Linked DNA regions of Homo sapiens: region 1 is linked to region 2. The links are contacts of gene promoters, found by promoter capture Hi-C in human tissues and cell types (Jung and others, 2019). All regions are on one chromosome and are shown on one strand. Each heading gives the region's core, a stretch centred on a gene start or on the middle of the fragment in contact. The rest is flanking DNA. Distances are from core to core; before and after follow the strand shown.

Region 1 (4,353 bases), core at 848-3,347, 130 kb after region 2:
CTGTTCATTATGTTGACTAGGAAACTTTTTGCATTTGGGTGATGTCGACCTGGGCGGTCCAGTGCAGCAGTGACACGCCACTAGGGCTGTGGATCACTTGAAATGTGGTCACTCTGAACCTAGATGTGCTGTGAGTGTAAAATGCCACAGATATCAAAGACAGCGTGTGGGGAAAAAAATTATGTAAACGGTCTCACCCATGTTTATACTGATTACGTGTCAAAATAATATTTTGGACATAGTTAGGTAAAATATATTATTAAAAGTAATTTCCAGCCAGGCGCGGTGGCTCACGCCTGTAATCCCAGCACTTTGGGAGGCTGAGGCGGGTGGATCACGAGGTCAGGAGATCGAGACCATCCTGGCTAACACGGTGAAACCCCGTCTCTATTAAAAATACAAAAAATTAGCTGGGCGTGGTGGTGGGCGCCTGTAGTCCCAGCTACTCGGGAGGCTGAGGCAGGAGAATGGCGTGAACCCGGGAGGCGGCGCTTGCAGTGAGCCGAGATTGTGCCACTGCACTCCAGCCTGGGCAACAGAGCGAGACTCTGTCTCAAAAAAAAAAAAAAAAAAAAAAATTTTTTTTTTTGTGAGTCAAGGGGGTCTCACTATGTTTCACAGGCTGGTCTTGAACTCCTGGTCTTAAGTGATCCTCTCACCTTGGCCTCACAAAGCTTTAGGATTACAGGTGTGAGCCACTGCATTGGGCATTAGAAATTTTTTTAAGCCAGGCATGGTGGCTCACGCCTCTAATCCCAGCACTTTGGGAGGCTGAGGCAGGCAGATCACCTCATGTCAGGAGTTCAAGACCAGCCTGACCAACATGGTGAAACCTCATCTCTACCAAAAATACAAAAATTAGCCAGGCATAGTAGTGCACGCCTGTAATCCCAGCTACTCAGGAGGCTGAGGTGGGAGAATTGCTTGAACCCAGGGAAGGCGGAGGTTGCAGTGAGCTGAGATCGAACTACTGCACTCCAGCCTGGGCAACAGAGTGAGATCCTGTCTCAAAACAAACAAAAACAGAAATCAGATCATACCCTTCCTTACGTAAAATCTCCACACCTCAAGGCTTCTCACCGCCTTTAGCATAAAGTCCAGCCCTGACCTTGGCCTCATGCCCAGAATCCTCCCCTCATCTACTCTCTCACCTCAGCTCCTTGCCCTTCAACCACACTGGCCTTCTTGCTGTTCCTCCAGTAAACCAACACTGCACCTTCCTCAGGCCCTTTGCACACTCTGTTCCCTCCGTCTGAAGGCTCTGCTTCCGGAAGTCCACCTGGCTAGCTCTTTCACCTCCTGCAGGGCTCTGCACAAATGTCACCTCCTCCGAGAAGCCCACCCTGAACACCCTGGTGAAAATATCCCAGCCCTGCCGCCCTCTAGCTCACCATCACTTTCTGAAGAGATCTTGATTTTTCTGTTTGCATGTTTATTGTTCATTTCCCACCTCTAGACCTAGGAATCGGGTCTATTTGTTCACCGCTTAGCGTACAGCAGAGGATAAGAAAAATGCACACGGAAGGACTGAGTAAATGCAGGACGGGGAGAGAGTTACTGTGCTCAGCCTTGTTGTATTCGTGGGCTGCACTTTGGGGCCTGAACTCAACTTTTTTTGTATTGTTTTCTTTTTGAGACGGAGTCTGTCTCTGTTGCCCAGGCTGGAGTGCAATGGCACAGTCTCGGCTCACTGCAACCTCCGCCTCCTGCATTCAAGCGATCCTCCTGCCTCAGCCTCCCAAGCAGCTGAGATTACAGGCGCCCGCCACCACGCCCGGCTAATTTTTGTATTTTAAGTAGAGACAAGGTTTCATCATGTTGGCCAGGCTGTTCTCAAACTCCTGACCTCAAATGATCTGCCCGTCTCGGCCTCCCAAGAGCCTGTTGCCGCACCCAGCCTAATTTTTGTATTTTAAGTAGAGATGGGGTTTCACTATGTTGGCCAGGTGGTCTCCAACTCCTGACCTGAAGTGATCTGCCCGTCTCCGCCTCACAAAGTGCTGGGATTATAGGCGTGAGCTACTGCGCCTGGCCTCTGAATTTAACTTCATCCCTATGATTTGGGAAAGGGATGTAAAAAGATAAGAAACACAATCTAAGCATTGATTCCAGTGAGTTCAGGTCTAATGATAATGATAATATCAGCAAACACCTATAGTGCACCGGGCACTGTTCTAAATAAATAAATAAATGTTCTGAGTGGACTAACTAGTTTAATTCTTTTTTTTTTTTTTGAGACGGAGTCTCGCTCTGTCGCCAGGCTGGAGTGCAGTGGCATGATCTCGGCTCACTGCAACCTCCGACTCCCAGGTTCAAGCGATTCTCCTGCCTCAGCCTCCCAAGTATCTGGGACTACAGGCGCGTGCCACCACGCCCAGCTAATTTTTGTATTTTTTGTAGAGACCAGGTTTCACCATGTTGGCCAGGATGGTCTCGATCTCCTGACCTTGTGATCCGCCTGCCTTGGCCTCTGAAAGTGCTGGGATTACAGGCATGAGCCACCGTGCCCGGCTTACTAGTATAATTCTTGTAACAACCTTATGATCATTACAGTGGGGATACTCTTGTTATCCTCATTTTACAGAGGAGGAAACAGAGGTTCAGAGAGGCTGAGTAACTTGCCCAAGGTCACAAAGCCAAGAAGGGGAAGAGCAAAGATTTGAGCCCCATCAGTCTCACCCCAGAATCCAGAAATACTGCATCCCAGAAAATATCCCAAGGAGCCTGCTCCTGGGAGGAGGAGTCCACTTCCACCCTCAGTGACCTCCGCCCTCCAAGCTGACCCACCCAGGGCTGACCTCTGGGACTGAATGAATGAACCTGGACCCCTTGCCATCTTTGAGCATCCTCAGGTCCCCAGCGGCCCAACCCCCACCCCCGGCCCGAGTCTGCGCTGACCCTGCCTTGAGCTGAGTGAGCGCTTCCTCTACGCGGGGCTGGTTGTAGCGCACCATGTAGCTGTGCATGTCGGGATAGTTGCTGCGGATGTTCTTCTCCGTGGAGCCGTTGGGCACGGTCCCAAACTTCAGGGGCGGGTACTGCTCCTGGGGCCTCTGGAACTGGGGCAGAATGGGGAGTGATTAGGGCACCCTCCGCAGGGACATCCCTAACATAAATCACCCATTCTGAGACACACCCGCTATCTGGCAGACACCCCAGTCCCAGGAGTGTTCAATATTTCTCAACACTCGCTCACTACATTAGGGAATGCTTTTCCACTCCCACCCAGCACACACGGTTGCAGACACGTGATCCAAAAGTTCACGAGAAGCCTCCCTGAGGCCCCTGATGTGCCAGGTGTTAAGTCTTCACTTACTGAATCGCGGGAGGTCCTGGGAGTAGAGGCTGGCATGGCAGGAGCTGGGAGCTGTTGCTATTTACCAATCCGTTCAGAAATAGTTCACTTTTTTTTTTTTAAACGGAGTCTTGCTCTTGTTGCCCAGGCTGGAGTGCAATGGCACACTGTCAGCTCACTGCAACCTCCGCCTCCCAGGTTCAACTGATTCTCCTGCCTCAGCCTCCCGAGTAGCTGGGATTACAGGCACATACCACCATGCCCAGCCAGTTTTGTATTTTTAGTAGAGATGGGGTTTCTCCATGTTGGTCAGGCTGGTCTCGAACTACCAACCTCAGGTGATCCGCCCGCCTTGGCCTCCCAAAGTGCTGGGATTACAGGCATAAGCCACCGCGCCCAGACAACTAAAACAAGTTTTGTAAAACCAAACTTATACATAAGATGCAGGCAACTATTCTATTCTACTCCATTCCATTAAAAAATGCTTATTGCAACCCATCAAACTGATTTCTCAAGCCTCTAATAGGTCATGACACCCAGCTAGTTAATCACTTTAGTCTCAAAGTATGCTCTGCAAACCACCAGTCCCTCAACAAACGGTGATTGCAGTGAGATGTGTACAGGAATGGAGAGAGTGAGCATTTAGAGTGATTTGACAGAATTCTTTTTCGTCTGTTGAATCTAATAAATAAAAATGTGAGTTTGGCTTTTTTTTAGGCAGAGTCTCGCTCTGTCACCCAGGCTAGGAATCAGTTCTATTTGTGGCGTAATCATGGCTCACTGTAACCTCCGCCTCCCGGGTTCAAGCGATTCTCCTGCCTCAGCCTCCCAAGTAGCTGGGACTACAGGCACCCACTACCACGCCTGGCTAATTTTTGTATTTTTATTAGAGACGAGGTTTCACTATGTTGGCCAGGCTGGTCTCGAACTCCTGACCTCAGGTGATCCACCCACCTCGGCCTCCCAAAGTGCTGGGATTACAGGCGTGAGCCACCGTTCCTGGCCAGGTTTGACTTTTGTCTGTCTTGGTTTTAGATCTTATTTTACTTTTCTAATAA
Region 2 (3,982 bases), core at 1,164-3,663:
ATTCACTGGATGGCTGGGAGGAGGGGAGGAGCAGCCTGGGACAGCCAAGGCTGGAGTGGTGAGGTTGGGGGGAGATGAGGAGGCCTGAGCTGGGGCTGTGGCAACCGAGAGGAAGAACCAGGGCAGAGAGTCAGGGGACAGGGGTGGGGGTTGGGGACTGACAGGCTGGGGGCGAGCAGAGGGGGAAGTCGGGGCCAGGAGAAGCCCTGTGGATCTGAGCCAGTGATGGGGAGGGGACATCCCTGAGATGGGCAACCTGGGAGGAGGTGCGAATCTGGGGGGGTACGTGGCGTATCTGAGGGGGTCTGGGAGGGGCACATCCCGAAGGAAGTGGGCCCCAGGGGGATGCTCCAGCAGGCTCGCTGGGGAGAGGCACGCTTCCAGGCCTGGGGGATTCCAGAAGTGCCTGGAAGTTTGAGGTCCTAAGGGCACCCCCCCAGGGCTCTGCAGCCATCAGGGCTGGAGGAGTCTTGCAGGGGAGGGCTATTCTCCCCCACGATGACGAAACCGAGCTTCGCAGAGGGTCAGTGACTAAACCAAGGTCACCCACTTAGCGAGGTCACTCAGGGCGTTTTATGACCAGCTGGCAGAGCCGTCGCGGAGATAAAAAAAAGGCTCCCAGGTGCCTGGCTGGGGTGGGGGTGAGGCCTTCCCAGAGGCGGGAACCCTGGAGGCGAGCTGGCTTATCTGTTTATCTCTGGAGAGAAGAATTGCAGAACTCAGAAGTCCTGGATTAGACAATGTTGAGTAAAGAATGCTGGGGCCTCCCTCACGCAGAACTGGGCCAGCCTGGTCACAGCTCTCAGCCCAGGAGGCCCAGAGACATCAGGAAGCTTGTCTAGGTCACACAGCAATCAGGATTGAACTGCTCCTGTCTCTGGAGTCCCAGGCACCCAGGAAGGCCTCTTCATGCCCCAGCTTCTGGCTGAGGGAGGGGAGGGGAGGGCCTGAAACAGTGGAATGAAATGAGGCGGCCAGGCGTGGTGGCCCACGCCTGTAATCCCAGCACTTTGGGAGGCCGAGGCAGGTGGATCACCTGAGGCAAGGAGTTCAAGAACAGCCTGGCCGACATGGTGAAACCCTTTCTCTACTAAAAATACAAAAATAAAATTAGCCGGGCATGGTGGCGGGCTCCTGTAATCCCAGTTACTTGGGAAGCTGAGGCTGGAGAATCACTTGAACCCAGGACGCGGAGGCTGCAGTGAGCTGATATCGTGCCATTGCACTCCAGCCTGGGCAACAAGAGCGAAACTCCATTTCAAAAAAATAAAATAAAATAAGAAAGGAATGAGGCAACTGGGCTGAGAACAGGTCTTGGTTGTCTCCCTCCTCACAGCCCACGGTGGCTGGAGGGGCCCAGGCTGCCAGGAAGGTCTCACTTGGCAAGAGTGCAAGATACGAGGGGTTGGAGATTGTCTCAGCAGTTTGCTGTGTGATCTGGGGCAGGCTGCCTGCCCTCTCTGGGCCTCTGCGCTCCCCTAAAAGATGGAGCCACGGGGAGGGGTGTAAAGGGGACATCACCAAGGCTGTGAGGAGCAGGAGAAACCACAGGCTCTGGCGTGAGACAGACCGGGTTCAGATTTGCTTCTAGCTGCGTAATTGCGGTCATGTCGCGTTCCCTCCCAGCCTCAGTTTCCCCATCTGGAAAGCAGGTACTGTCAAAGTGTCTGACTCATCCCCAGGAAGAGGGAGTCACGCTGAGCTCATGGAAGTGGGCAGTGCTCTGCCCTAACCACTGTTAGGAGACCTGAAGAGTCCAGAGCCTGCCCTCTCCGCCCCAAGTGCCCTAGAACACAGCTTCTCCCTCTGGGGGTCTCAGCAGCATCCCAGTCTCTCCCATTTCACCCCCAAGCACCCCCGTTATTTCAGGGCTTGCATGGGGTGTCCTGGGTACTACAGGCTGTTGTGTTTCCTGAGCAACTACTATGCACCAAGCTGCCTGCTCTCTTCCACTGCTCTATCAGGGAGACACAGGGCTTGTGGGCCCCTTTGACAGACAGAAAAACTGAGGCCCGGAGAGCGACAGGGACACCCCAGGCATCCCCACTGGTGACTCAACACGGTCGGGTCCTCACTCCCTTCTCAGGAGGGACCTATACACCACACTGGATGCCCCAGCCCAGCCCAGCCCCTCCAGCTAAGTCTGGGCCAGGCCTGCGGCTGCGGGTGGCTGGAGGCCACCCTTGCCACAGTCCCCGGCTCCCCCAAACAGCCACCTCCTCCCTGGGATCTCCTGGCTCCTGCCCAGGTCTGGGCCTCACCTGATTTCCGAGATGTCATCTTCATAGGTGTCCCACAAGCCCGGGATCTGGGGCTCGGCGGGCCCGTCCATGGCAGGTGGGTGAGGGTGGGGAGGGGAGGACGAGCAGGGAGCAGGCGGCACAGAGGCCAGGTGTGCGCAGCGACAGCGTCTGCCACCTGGGGAGCCCGCCAGGTGCCTACTCCGTGCCCGGCCCAAGGGGAGGGGCAGCACCCAGCCGGTTCTCCCAGCTGCTACCCACGCCTCCAACAGCGGGGAGAGGCCAGAGGGAGCCACCCTGCTCTGAGGGCGGGGAGGAGCAGTGATGGGCACGTCCTGGCGTCTGGTGCTCAGCTGGGGGCAGAGTCCAGGGGGTCAGTGCCAAGCCCACGCCAGAACCTTCCGGGCTGGCAGTTCTGGGCCTGTGGGCACCCACCTGGAGCCCACGTTGCTCATTTGGGAAATGGCGCTGATCTCGCCCATCTCAGCGAGTTCATTCATTCATTCATTCATTCACTCATTCATTCCTTTATTCATTTGAGAAATATTTACTGAGCATCTCCTGTCTGCCAGGCGCTGTTCCAAGCACTAGGCCACCGCTGGGGAAGGGGCAGACAGAAACTTGCCCTCACGGGCTGACGCGTAAGGGGCACCCTGGAAACAGACACAGGGACAGAGGCACAGCCAGGACCACGGCAGCACAGACAGGGCGGGAGCCAGGGAGAAAGGGAGAGGGCAGAGGGCATGGGAGACAGAGACCAGGAGGGGACTGAGATGCACAGGGGCCAGAGACCTTGAGAGACGCAACAGAGATACACGGAGGGCGGAGACAGAGACACACGGACACCCAGAGGAGACAGAGACACACAGGGGTCAGAGACCCTGAGAGACCCAGCAGCGATATACAGAGGGCAGAGACAGAGATACATAGAAAGGTCAGGGACAGGGAGAGACACAGATATGAGAGACAACTGCCAGATATGGTTGGGCGTGAGAGTCTGAAGGTCACAGCCCTGGTTCAAATCCCAGCTCCAGTGCCTCCCAGCTGTGGGGCCGGGAACCATCTTGCTCATAGGCTCATCTTGCCTTAGTTTCCCCATCTGTGAATGGCACCCATCGGGCTGTTGTGAGGACTGAGGGAGACACTCTCAGCTGCTGGTGGAGGATCTGGTACACAGTGAGCTCAGCATAGACGGTGTTCTCTTCTCTTCTGCCCCCACCCCAAACCCTGGCCCTCCCCAGCTGTTGGTCCCTGACCCCTCAGAGTCCTGGAGTCATGAAGCCAGTCTCCCCACCAGTGGTGGCAGGTGCCTGTAATCCCAGCTACTTGGGAGGCTGAGACACGAGAATCGCTTGAACCTGGGAGGTGGAGGTTGGAGTGAGCTGAGATCACATCACTGCACTGCAGCCTGGGCGACAGAGAGAGACTCCATCTCAAAAAAAAAAAAAAAATGCCAAAAGAAAGCCTGTGCAATGGCTCACGCCTGTAATTCCAGCACTTTGGGAGGCCGAGGCGGGTGAATCGCCTGAGGTCAGGAGTTCAAGACCAGCCTGGCCAACATAGTGAAACCCCATCTCTACTAAAAATACAAAAAATTAGCTGGGCATGGTGGCAGGTGCCTGTAATCCCAGCTATTCGGGAGGCTGAGGCAGGAGAATCACTTGAACCCTGGAGGCAGAGGTTGCAGCGAGCCAAGATTGTACTGTTGCACTCCAGCCTGGGCAACAAGAGTGAAACTCCAT

What was found. The method cuts DNA at HindIII sites, captures the fragments that hold promoters and counts their contacts. A contact is called where the count stands out against the background at its distance.
Region 1: a contact is called between a fragment that was not itself captured here and the fragment with the promoter of SULT2B1 in region 2, in 1 of the 25 tissues and cell types used here (dorsolateral prefrontal cortex).

What each region holds. Positions count from the first base shown.
Region 1 is chr19:48,420,491-48,424,843 of GRCh38, reverse strand. It overlaps GRIN2D (glutamate ionotropic receptor NMDA type subunit 2D), which reads right to left. Exons shown (of 14, transcript NM_000836.4): 11 at 2,899-3,059. Among named protein-coding and RNA genes, the nearest start is that of GRWD1, 23 kb to the left of the region's middle. RefSeq lists an enhancer at 1-32. The HindIII fragment of the contact is 4,602 bases long and covers 1-4,353 here.
Region 2 is chr19:48,550,603-48,554,584 of GRCh38, reverse strand. It overlaps SULT2B1 (sulfotransferase family 2B member 1), which reads right to left and starts at 2,413. Exons shown (of 7, transcript NM_177973.2): 1 at 2,262-2,413. The coding sequence starts at 2,332. RefSeq lists a silencer at 259-553 and enhancers at 1-680, 2,469-2,993. The HindIII fragment of the contact is 26,692 bases long and covers 1-3,982 here.